Regions from separate parts of the Homo sapiens genome. Here all the other regions are linked to region 3. Evidence: promoter capture Hi-C in 16 types of primary human blood cells and fetal thymus (Javierre and others, 2016). All regions are on one chromosome and are shown on one strand. The core of a region is centred on a gene start or on the middle of the fragment in contact, and the rest is flanking DNA. Distances in the headings are between cores, read along the strand shown. Region 1 overlaps BPI (bactericidal permeability increasing protein). Region 2 overlaps LBP (lipopolysaccharide binding protein). Region 3 holds the start of TGM2 (transglutaminase 2).

What was found. The method cuts DNA at HindIII sites, captures the fragments that hold promoters and counts their contacts. A CHiCAGO score of 5 or more calls a contact.
Region 1: a contact is called between a fragment that was not itself captured here and the fragment with the promoter of TGM2 in region 3, in 3 of 17 cell types (neutrophils, monocytes and M0 macrophages). The highest score is 9.0, in neutrophils.
Region 2: a contact is called between a fragment that was not itself captured here and the fragment with the promoter of TGM2 in region 3, in 1 of 17 cell types (monocytes). The highest score is 5.4, in monocytes.

The regions. Positions count from the first base shown.
Region 1 is chr20:38,304,902-38,308,856 of GRCh38, forward strand. It overlaps BPI (bactericidal permeability increasing protein), which reads left to right. Exons shown (of 15, transcript NM_001725.3): 2 at 2,666-2,780. Among named protein-coding and RNA genes, the nearest start is that of BPI, 2.7 kb to the left of the region's middle. The HindIII fragment of the contact is 8,601 bases long and covers 1-3,955 here.
Region 2 is chr20:38,368,955-38,373,095 of GRCh38, forward strand. LBP (lipopolysaccharide binding protein) reads left to right here. Exons shown (of 15, transcript NM_004139.5): 10 at 41-208; 11 at 1,784-1,851; 12 at 2,326-2,368; 13 at 4,118-4,141. Among named protein-coding and RNA genes, the nearest start is that of LBP, 25 kb to the left of the region's middle. The HindIII fragment of the contact is 3,205 bases long and covers 579-3,783 here.
Region 3 is chr20:38,162,787-38,166,519 of GRCh38, forward strand. It overlaps TGM2 (transglutaminase 2), which reads right to left and starts at 2,484. Exons shown (of 13, transcript NM_004613.4): 1 at 2,403-2,484. The coding sequence starts at 2,412. RefSeq lists a silencer at 2,337-2,776. The HindIII fragment of the contact is 3,789 bases long and covers 299-3,733 here.

The sequences.
Region 1 (3,955 bases), core at 1,338-3,837, 140 kb after region 3:
GCTAGGAACTTTACACACACAGTCTCTTTTACCCTCACTTCAGCCTTGTGTAAGACAAACTGCTGCTATCCACATTTACACGTGAGAAGTGGGCAGCCTGGATTTGAGCTCTGGTCTTGCCTGATGCCCCAGCACGGGGTTGCTCGATGCTGCCTCCCGATGGCAGAGAGATGACCTGCAAAACAGTGGGTGACACCCAGCCCCAGGGAAATCAGACCAAGGGGAAGGCAGAGCCTCACCAGTTGGGGTGCGTTGGGAAAACAGACAGGACTCAGGGGACCTGGTATCCCACCCCTGAATTCCCACCCCAGCCCAGCAGGACATCACTGAATCCTAGAGCTGCAGACAGAAGGCCACAGAAGACAGAAGAGCTAGGGGGAAGGAGTATGGCCCTGAAGCCTGTCGACACAGAGGCTCAGTCAGGGTCTTTAAGTTCAGTGGTCTTCATGCTCCGTCATAGCAGCCTGAGTTTCCCCTTCTACCCAGGCCCCTTGTGCCAATCGGAGTGAGTTTTCTGAAATGCAGCAAATCCCTACACATCCTCCCCTGGCTCACATTCTCCATGGCTCCCTACTGCCTTCAGAAGCTATCCTGACCCTTTGGCATGGCATTTGAGACCCTTCGAGGCCTGGCCCCTGTCAACTTACAGATCCTGGCCACTGCACATTTTTTTTTCCCTCCACACAGTGACCAGTTATGTGTCATTTACTTTTGAACCCCCAGAAAGCCTTCTCTAGGGCATGGGCTCTGGGACCAGAAGGCCTGGGTTCAAATTCTGCCCCTTGTCCGCTGTGTGGCCCCTAGCAAGTCACCTCAGCTTTCTGAGCCTCAGCTTCCTTATCTGTGAAATGGGGGTAGTGACAGGACCTACTTCCTAGGATTGTACAAATTCATACATATACGGAGCCTAGAACAGTGCTTGGCACAGAGTAAAGCTCGATACATTTCATTGATATTATTATTTCCTAACTGGCTCCGAGAAAACCCAAAGTCTGGGCTCCCTCATCTTACTACTTACTCCTTTTCAGGTAATGTGTCTGCCTTTTAATTGGTTCTTTGATGCTGTTAGCCACATTATAACTGGTGGTAGAATTCCTGCCATTAGGACATTATTTATTCATCTAATAAATCTTTTTTTGTTTTGTTTTGAGACCGAGTCTCGCTCTGTGGCCCAGGCTGGAGTGCAATGGTGCCATCTCAGCTCACTGCAACCTCTGCCTCCGGGGTTCAAGTGATTCTCCTGCCTCAACCTCCCAAGTAGCTGGGATTACAGGCGTGCACCATCACACCCAGCTAATTTTTTGTATTTTTAGTAGAGACGGGGTTTCACCATGTTGGCCAGGCTGAACTCTTGAACTCTTGACCTAAAGTGATCCACTTGCCTTGGCTTTCCAAAGTGCTGGGATTACAGGCGTGAGCCACCGCACCCAGCCTCATCTAACAAATCTTAAGTGCCTTCAAAGTGTCAGGCACAATGGGAATGTAAGGGACACACGAGTAAATAAAACAGATTGCTGCTGACTTCAGGGGGCTTACATGTAATAGGGGAGAGACATTCGTCAGAGTCACGTGAATAAATGCATAATTACAAATGGTAACAGGGGCTCCGAAAGAGCAGTCCACAGCATCATGAGAATAACACAGGGCGTTGCTCTGATCTACTAAGCCAGGGAGGGTTCCCAGAGGAAGTGATGAATGAGCTGACTAGAAGCTGACCGGGTGAATATGGGAGGGAAGAATTTCTTAGGGAGCAAGAATAGCATGTGCAAAGGCCCTGGGGAGACAGTCCAAAACCCAGAGAGGTGGGAGATCTGTGGGGGTGTAGCATAGAGCAAATAACAAATTAAGTATCCAACAAAAACTAGCAGGAGGCATAACTGGGTGTTTCAGGGGTGATATTTTAGACCAGGGGTCAGCAAACTACAGCCCTCCGTTTTTGTATGGCTTATAAGACAAAAATGGCCTTAATGTCTTTAAATGATGGGAAAAAAATCAAAAGGGCCGGTCATGGTGGCTCATGCCTGTAACTCCAGCACTTTGGGAGGCTGAGGTGAGAGGATCACTTGAGCCCAGGAGTTCGAAACCAGCTGGGCAACATGGTGAAACCCCAGATCTCTGCAAAAATGTTAAAAAAAAATTTTTAAAAAGTTAGCCTGGTGTGGTGGCGAACACCTGTGATCCCAGCTGCTAGGGAGGCTGAGGTGGGAGAATGACCTAAGTGCAGCGGGTCGAGGTTGCAGTGAGCCGTGATCATGCCTCTGCACTCCAGCCTGGGCGACACAGCGAGACCCTGTCTCAAAACAACAACAAAAGAAGAAAAATACTATCTCACAACATGTGAAAATTATATGAAATTCTCATTTCAATGCCAACAAATAAAGTGTTATTGGAATACAGGCACATATAAGAACATGATATTGTCTATGGCTGTTTTGTGCAGTAATGGCAGAGCTGAGTATTTGTGACAGAGGCAATATGGTTTCCTATAAAGGGTCAGTTTACTATTTGGCCTTTTCTAGGAAACCTTAATTGATCCCTGTTTTTGACCCTTCCAGTGCCACTGTCCATGCTACGAACAGGGGCCCAGGGTCCAGAGCCTGCCCTGCCCCTCTGTCCCCTGCTCCAGGCTGTGCCTCTCACTGTCACCCCTGCCTTCTCCCTTCAGCCAGCCAGCAGGGGACGGCCGCTCTGCAGAAGGAGCTGAAGAGGATCAAGATTCCTGACTACTCAGACAGCTTTAAGATCAAGCATCTTGGGAAGGGGCATTATAGCTTCTACAGGTGAGGCCTATCAGAGCTCAATCCTCGATTTGCAGGACTTGTAGTGTTCTGGGGACACCAAGAGCTAGAATGCAGAGCCACAAACTCCTCAACTCACAGAGTTTCATATCCCAAAGCCTGCATTTACATCATCCCAAGGGGAGGCAACCTCCCAGCTGAGCGTGGAGGAAGCCACAAAAACCACGACTCCCAGGAAGTGTGTCATGAACCCCCAAACTCTGCGCCATATGTCAATTAGAATGTGCAAGTTTTCAAGGTCAGAAAATCTTTTCTAAAATGGCTTAAGGCAGAATGCATTGGCTCACATGGCCGGAAAGTCTCTGGAAGAGTCTGGCTTCAGGTTCAGCTTGAGGCAGGCTTACATGTCACTGGGCCCTGTTTCTCTCTTGCCACCTCTCAGCATCACTTCCTTGGACAGGCCTAATTCGCAGGCAGTGTGTCCCCTCCAGAGGCAAGACAGCCACCAGTAAGTCTCTCTAGATCTCCTGCTCAGCACTCTGAACAAAGAGCCCTAAGACTCACTCTGACTGGCCCACCTCAGATTATATACACAGCCCTGAGCCAATCACTGTAGCCAGGGAATGAAATACACTACTTGGCCGAGCCTAAGTTGCAAGCTCCACCCCCGAAGATGGACGTGAGGTCAACTTTCTTTGGAGTGGCATGGAACAGATATGGGGAGGGGCTTCCCCTAAATAATCTAGTAGTTCTGTTATCACAAGAAGGGGGCTGTGCACTGGGCAGAAAACCCATAAAAGTCCTCTACAGTTTTATACACCCATTCATTCACAGATATTTTGAGCACCCACTGTGTGTCTGACACAGCAGGCTTTGGGGCTGCAATAGTGAAACAAGACAGAGCTATACAGAGCTCTTCTGTACAGAGCTTCCAGTGAAAGGGCCTTCTATTTTATCTTCATTGATTGCCACACACCCTGCAAAATAGCAATCACTGTGCCCATTTTACAGATGAGGAAACTGAGGCTGGGGTAATTATGCCCAAGGTAACCCAAGAGTATATTAAAGAGCAGGATTTAAATGCAAGTTTTTTCTGACTTCAAAACCTAAGCCACTCCAGTTGCCTACATATCTGCCAAGCCTGCTTTCTTAGCTTTGGGCTCCTCCTGGAATGGATGGAGTGAAGGACCAGGTGGTGGGGGACGAGTCTGCATTAA
Region 2 (4,141 bases), core at 931-3,430, 210 kb after region 3:
ATTTTCTTCTCTTGATGTAATCTCCTAATTCTGCTCCCAGTTAGCCAGGCTCTACCCCAACATGAACCTGGAACTCCAGGGATCAGTGCCCTCTGCTCCGCTCCTGAACTTCAGCCCTGGGAATCTGTCTGTGGACCCCTATATGGAGATAGATGCCTTTGTGCTCCTGCCCAGCTCCAGCAAGGAGCCTGTCTTCCGGCTCAGTGTGGTAAGGTTCAGAGCCTTTGCAAATGCTGTTTCCTTTTCCCCACATGCTTTTCCCTTTTCCCCACATGCTTTTCTCCCCACTCACCACCTGGGTAATTCCTCCAGGTCTCAACTTAAATATTACTTCCCGAGAGAGGGCTTTCTTGCTGGCCCTTACCCCCAATCTACCTTACGCCCCTTGCCACTTTTTCTTGTAACACCCCATTATCTTTCTTCTCAGCGTTTACTACAAAGATACTTTGTAGCTGTCTGCAGGTGTATTTGTTTAATGCATGTATCTCTCACTATGTGAGTCTGGGCTATTGTGGGGAGAAAGGTATACTGGTGTTTGTCTATTTGTCTATTTTGACCTTGGAAGACTACATTTCCCAAGCTTCTTTGCACTTTGATTTCCACCCAGGTCAACCAATGGGAGGTACTGTCAGGAGAATGATGGCGGGGAGGAAGGATGAAGCCAGAGTACTATTTCCTCTTTCTTTACCACGGCAGAGGCTCTGGCTGTGACTATGTCTCCTCATGGTGACTTCCATAATTCCACCTCCACTCTTTGTTCCTCTAGTCCTGGGGTGGATACAGCCTCCTGTCTCTGGATAATCTCTGGGTGGCCTCACCAACTCTTTACTAGCTTCTCAACAATTCCATCACTTGTATAACCAATTCCCCGTATTAAATTCCCTCTGCGTTAAACATTGAGAGTCAGTTTTCCTTTTTTGATGGACTCTGTCTAATAGGGAAGGGATGTTGGGTCCTTTGGGGGCCTTGCTCCCTGGATGGAGAACTCTGCTCTCTTGTTTCTTGACTTTTGAAATCAACAAGTCAAATCTCTACCAGGGTAATTCTTCCTAGAGGCTATATCTGCAATTTAATATTGTTGTTATTGTTATCAAAAGTGTCATTATTAATATATTTTAAATTAAAATATAATTTACTGTCTGGGTGTGGTGGCTCACATCTGTAATCTCAGCACTTTGGGAGGTCAAGGCAGGAGAATCACACAAGGCCAGGAGTTTGAGAGCAGCCTGGGCAACACAGCAAGACTCCATTGCTACAAAAAAGAAAAAACAAATAGCCAGGCCTGGTGGCATGCACCTGTAGTCCTATCTACTCAGGGGGTTGATGTGGGAGGATCGCTTGAGCCCAGGAGATTGAGGCTGCAGTGAGCCATGATTGCACCACTGCACTCCAGCTGGGCGACAGACAGAGACTCCATCTCTAAAACAATAATAATAATTTATTAATGTTGTTACTAGGGCTGAATCTTGACCTGAGATAACTAGAAATGATCCTTTTTAGAGCTTTCCAAGGGTAGGTACTCTATACCTTCTCTTAGTAGTCTGTTCAAAGTTTAACTGCTAACATAAACAACAATTTCAAGTAAAAATGTTCAAGTCCAAGTTCAAATATTGTTTGAGCACCTACAGTGAGCCTTCTGGGAGTCTATGATCTAGTGGGCAAATTTCCTGCTTTAGCTCATTGAGCTGTTTGTTGAGAGGAGACAGTTGGTCCCTCGTCATCATCCTTCCTATACATACAACCTTCATCACTTACACCTGCTTCCTTCTTCTGGCATTTCCAGGCCACTAATGTGTCCGCCACCTTGACCTTCAATACCAGCAAGATCACTGGGTTCCTGAAGCCAGGAAAGTAAGTTGGCCTCCTACCTACATGGGGGTGCCCAGCTGGACTCCATCTGTATGCTGTAGCTGCTTCTCTGTAGCTGGTGGGAGGGGGGGCCACCATTTGGAAAGGACACTTACATTTCACCCCAATTGGCCCAATTCTTCTGCCCCACTGGTCCTGCCCCCACAAATCTCAAATTGTTAAAGAATTCACTAAGACTGTTACTTCTTAATGTATGAATTTTAGAAGCCAGCTATATGAACTTCCTGAAATGATAAAGAGTGAGCTTTTTGACACTATCTCATCTGCCCTGTGACAGTCTTCCCGATGTCATTGTATCACTGCTTTTAGTTCCTCAGTCATCTTTTCCACTCCTGCTCCCGCCCTACCTTTGGCCCTGTGCCTTCTCAAGCCCATCCTTTCTCGCTTCTGGGGACCCCCGCATTGCTTAAACTTGCATAAAGCCCACACCTTTTAATCTTCTCTGATTCATTACAGGGTAAAAGTGGAACTGAAAGAATCCAAAGTTGGACTATTCAATGTAAGTTGTTTTTATTGATGACATGATTAGAATGTTAATTAATTTGGGGTGTTTCCTAAGCAATTGCTATGGCACCTATAATAGGAAATACAAAAGGAGAAGAGTTGATTTTTTGCCCTGCAGAAGTGTAAAAGGTCTCGAAAACACAAGACATAGGGCCAAGGAACAGTTATATCCTAGTATAAAACAATATATAATTAAGTCATCTACTGAACAGAATTCTCTTAACTGCAAGAGACAGAAAGCCAATTGAAATCATCTTAAGCAAAGAGGAGAAATATATAGGATTATATAATTGAAAAGCAAAAATAAACGAAAAAACTAAGACCAGAGGTTTCAGGCATAGCTGGATCCAGGTGTTCTAATTAGTGCATCAAGAATCTCTCTCCATCTCTCTGTTCTGTTTTCATTTGTGTTAGCTTCACTCTCAGGCAGGCTCTTCCAATTGGTAGCAAGCCCCAGAGTTTCCTACAGTTTCAGTTTTTTAAAAAATTTGCACACACACACACAAAATCTCTGTGCTAGCTCTCATTGGACTAATCTTAGGCACCCAGTCTTAAGCCAAGCACTGTGGCCAGAAGTCAGCCCAGCATGGATCTCATCTACACTCCAGGAGGCAGGATTTGCAGTCAGCTACATCCAAAGCACATGGACCAAGACTGGCAAGGAGGGTTGTTCCCTGGGGGAAAATAGACTCCGTTATCAAAACAAGAGGGATTGAGTGCTGAGCAGGTAAATCCAAGAAGTGATTTCCACAAGGTAGAAAAAGTGGTGAAGTAGACGGCCCCAAATAAAAGGAGGAAAGAGAACGTGAAAATCAGTGTGGGCCAAAGTTATGGAGAAGAGCTTTCTGGAAAGAGGGAAGGAGGAGCTGGGTAGACTTTAATGTGTAGTCGTTGGCTTCTCTTTTACCATTCCATGATGCTGGCCTCCACTGACCACCTCCACCTGTGCCCTGCCTCCCAGACTTTCCCGAAGCACTTATGAAGTGGAAACAAACACAGAGGCGGTGGGGAGAGATGCAGGGACCCTGAAGCTAACTCCTTTCAGAGAATAAAGGGTGGAGTGAATAATGGTGCACTCATATTGTATCTGTGCGTGTTTACTGCAAAGTAAAACATTCAAGTGAGAAGTTTCACAAAAATCCATCCTGTCGGGTTTTCAGAGCATGAAATGTAAAAACAAAAACTACAGACTCAGATACATTTAGATTCGAATCCTGATGCTGCTGCCCAGTTTGTAGTAAGTCCCTTTCATTCTGTAGGCCTCAGTTTCCCGATATATGGAATAGGGACATTAATATGAACTTTGAGGGGTTGTTGTGAAGATTGAATCAGACATGCACGTAAAGCTCTGAGCTCTCTGCTTGGCATATAGTGGGGGTTAGAAGTTGTGTTTCATGATTTTGGTAGAGAAGCTTATTTTGTTTTTATTAAATTTTTTAAATTATGTAGGTAGTTCAGGAAAAACATTCTCACTGTAAATAAAACCGATACTAAAGATAAGGCTAAGGACATGTCAAATGTTGATGTTCTTCCTTTAGAGGAAAGACTGTCGGGTGTGTAACTTTCCAAAATTTTTCTATTCACTTGCATACCAAATGTTCATCTCAAAAGAGTTTTATCTTATAAAATAGTAGCATGATGTAATACTAGTTTGCTTTTCCCAAGCGTTTTGCTATGTTGGCACACACAGAACCACCATGTGGCCCTGTGGCGATGTAAATATATCTCTCCTGTTCTCTTCCAGGCAGAGCTGTTGGAAGCGCTCCTC
Region 3 (3,733 bases), core at 1,234-3,733:
GGTGCGCAGGGGCAGGAGACACCACGGTGGTCAGTGCTGGGTGATGAGGACATAGGAATTTATTAAACAATTCTGTCTATTTTTGTGTATGTTCAATATTCTCCAAAACAAAACATTTTTAACATGATAGGTGCTTTGGAGACTTCCAGAGGTAGGTTTTAGTTCTGCTGTGTTGCTGTGTGAGCCTGGATAAGTGTCTCTCCCTCTCTGTGACTCCTCCTCTGAAGTCTCAAGGGGCTGCTGTGAGTCTAGAAGATGTGTTGGGAACCCCCTTCCCCACGGCCCAGCCCAGGACAGAAGCTTGATACGTGAAAGTTCCATTTACAGTTTCAGATGGAGCAGAGGACCAGGGCACGGTCAGGGTGACAGATGGGTGGGGGTCTTGGGGGAAAACAAATCTCATAAACCTTGGCAAGCTCAAGGTCAGGATGGGGAAGCCCTTAAGGTGGGAGGAGTGGGCAAGACAGACTCTGAGTGTGGAGCCACTGGACAGCATGTGGTCCAAGTGAGGCCCAGGGGCAGGAATTTGTTCAAAGTCACGCCGCAAGTTGGTCCTTGCAGTGGGAGAGCCCAGGTCTCCTGCTCACCATCGACTATTCCAAAAATGAGATGCAAAGTGCCTTGTATGTGAATTATCTCGACTTAAATCCCAAAACAACTCCGCTTACATAGATGCTATCATGATTCCCATTTTGTAGACAAAGACACCAGGTGGCTCCAGGTCCCAGAGCAAGTGGCTGCTTTGGGATTGGAATCCAGAGCTGTAGGATTCTGTAGGATTCTGCCCTGGGAACCACCTCACTACAGCTCAGTTTTTTCTCCAGCCCCTCTTATGACCACCCCTTCGCCACCATGTCCTGTGTTGTTCTCAAACCTGGGGGCAGATAGTTCTGCGCCACTGAAGTATCAGGGATGTCGGTCCCCGTGTAATCACAACAGAAGAGACCTCAGTGGCCAGAAGGAAAAACTTCCTGCTGGCCTATTGCGGCGAGGAAATGTTTTTGGAAACTTCAGACCCAGGGAGCTTGAGCAGGAAAGAGGCCATTGTTGTTCCCATGGAAGACCCTGGAGATACGGCCAGTCCCTGGGCTGTGGGAGCTGGGGCATTTTCTCCATCTGTTGTCCGAAGAAGGGTTTCCAGAAATCACGCCCAGCTCCAAAGATGCAGGTCTAGAATTGTAGGATTTATAGGATTTCTGCACTTAGAAAGGGCCTAGGCCTTCTAGGCCAGTGAGACCTCTGTCAGAAGTGGCCACTGTGACATGGGGCTGGAGGCTCATCATAACTGGCATCTCCAGGATCTCCCAGCCCCACTGAGCCCTGCTTTTGAGCATGGGGGTGAGAAGATGCATTGAGGACAAGCGGCCACCGAGGCGACACATCACAGTGTGTTGGGAGCTGGGCCCGAGGGAGGCAGGTGGCTGAGATCACACAGCAGGGTCAGGTGGGTCCACAGTTCCTGCCACCCATTCCTGCTCCACCTGCCCCATGTCCCTGTCCCACACCCCTTCCTGGGGGTTGCAATGGGTGCAGAAGCCATCCCCAGATGAACTTGACCCAAGAGCCAGCTGGGATTCTGGGTCCAGCAGTGACATCCTCCATTGTAGAAATCCCTCCAGCTGGGACCTACGAGAGTGCTGCTTGTGTGTGGGGAGGGAGTCAGGGGCACCAGTATGAAATTAGTTAAGCCTCTGTTCCACTCCTCTCGTTCCTCACAGATGCACCAAAGGCTGGAGCAGAGGACCAGGGCACGGTCAGGGTGACAGATGGGTGGGGGTCTTGGGGGAAAACAAATCTCATAAACCTTGTCCTATAAAATAAGGACACTGTTGTCCTTATTTTATAGGTGAGACTCAACAATTGGCCAAGGTCTAGGGTTGCAGAACGTGAGGGCGGGAAGAACAAGCCTGATTTCCGAAGGCTCCTGGATAGGATGCCGAAAGCTCCTCTCTGGCCGCTGGAGCCAAGGACTCAGCCAGGCTTGGCTTGCACACCACCGGCGTGGCATGCACACCACCTGGTCCTGGCTGGCAAGAACCACCCAAACCTAAGTGTTCTGAGGCCAGGCCAGCACCCCCTGCACAGCTCCAGGCACACATCAGAGAGCCAGCCCCCACTGACTGACTGAGGACACGTGCCAGTGGTCCGCCAGGACAGTACTTTACAGTTTACAACACCCCGTCGCGTTCCATTGCCTCACCTGATCCAGGGAGGCAAGGGTTAATGGTTATGCAGTGTGGATGGGGAAACTGAGGCTCCAAGCAGCATTGAGACGCCTCCTCACCCAGCCCGGTCTGCCTGTTGCTCTCCAAATCAGGACTTAGGGATTCAGCTCCCACCGGGTCCTGACCCCCAATGCCCCGGGGCCCCTGAGTGGCGGCTGCGGTGACTCTGATACTCACCCTCGGCCATGGTCGGGCGGGGGCGGTGGCTCCTTCCACTGGCGGCGAGACCCTCCAAGTGCGACCACTGGCGGCTGGCACTGCCGAGGCGGAGAGCGGCGCTAACTTATAGCCCGCTTTGGGGCGGGCCGGGGGCGGGGCCCCGCGGGAAGGCGGCGACCTGGGAGGCCACCCATTGCCCAGTCCCGGGCCCACGCCGCCAGCGCTGGGGCTCACCCAGGGGACCGGAGCCCGAGGGAGGGACGGCGGCCGGACGAGGGCGCCCCCTGGGGGAGCGGACAGGGACACACAACTAGCCCAGGATACAGACACACCTGGACCCACAGACTCAGACCTTGGAGAACAGACACCTGGACACACACACTCAGATACAGACACACGCAGCACCCTCATAGAAACACACAACGGAACCGGGGTGCACCTGGACACACAGATGTGGACTCTTAGGTCAGATCTGGGATCAAGAACACCTCCCCACCCCCAACACACACACACACACACACACACACACACGCACACACTCACACACATACTCAGATATACATACACAGAGAGCAGACGCAGACACACCAAGACAGGGCTGTGGAGATACACACACAAACACAGATACACTCCCACAGATACACCAAACACGGCTGGCCACGCAGACACAGTGACATGGATACAAATTCAGATTCGAATGGCAGACACACACCAGGACATAGATACAGCCTGACACAGCCAGGTAGCCTTGACCGCGAGCCACACACAGCTGTGGACACAGATGAGCAGGTGTCCAGAGGCACCTGGCACACACACAGACCTCCTAGACACCAATGCCACTGTCAGATGTGGACGCAAAATCAGAGAGGGCACCCACAGACACACAAAGATGTGGCTACTCAGAGGTAGACACACATGCAGGCATGGACTCAGGTACAGACATGCAGACACACCTGCAAAAACAGACACACCCATGTCCCTTCCTGTAGCAAAACCCAGATAATCCTCCGATCTCACCCATCCTTGTATCTGTCTAATCAGCCATCCATCTAATCAGCCATCCATCTACCCATCCATCCACTCACCCATGCATCACCTACCCCCCCACCTATCCATCCACTCATCCCTTCATCCATCCCTCCCTCGGCCTTCTCTTCCCTCCCTCCCTCAATCCATCCATCCACTGAGCTTTCTTGAGGCCCCACTGTGTGCCAGAAAGGAGCAAGACTAACTTTCCAGGGACTCAGCCTAGGACTTCTCGAACCTGGCAACCAGGGGTCCTATCTCTCATCCTGGTATCTCTGGTCTCTTGGTCTCCTGTGCTTCCGGATCCACTGTGAGCCCTGAGC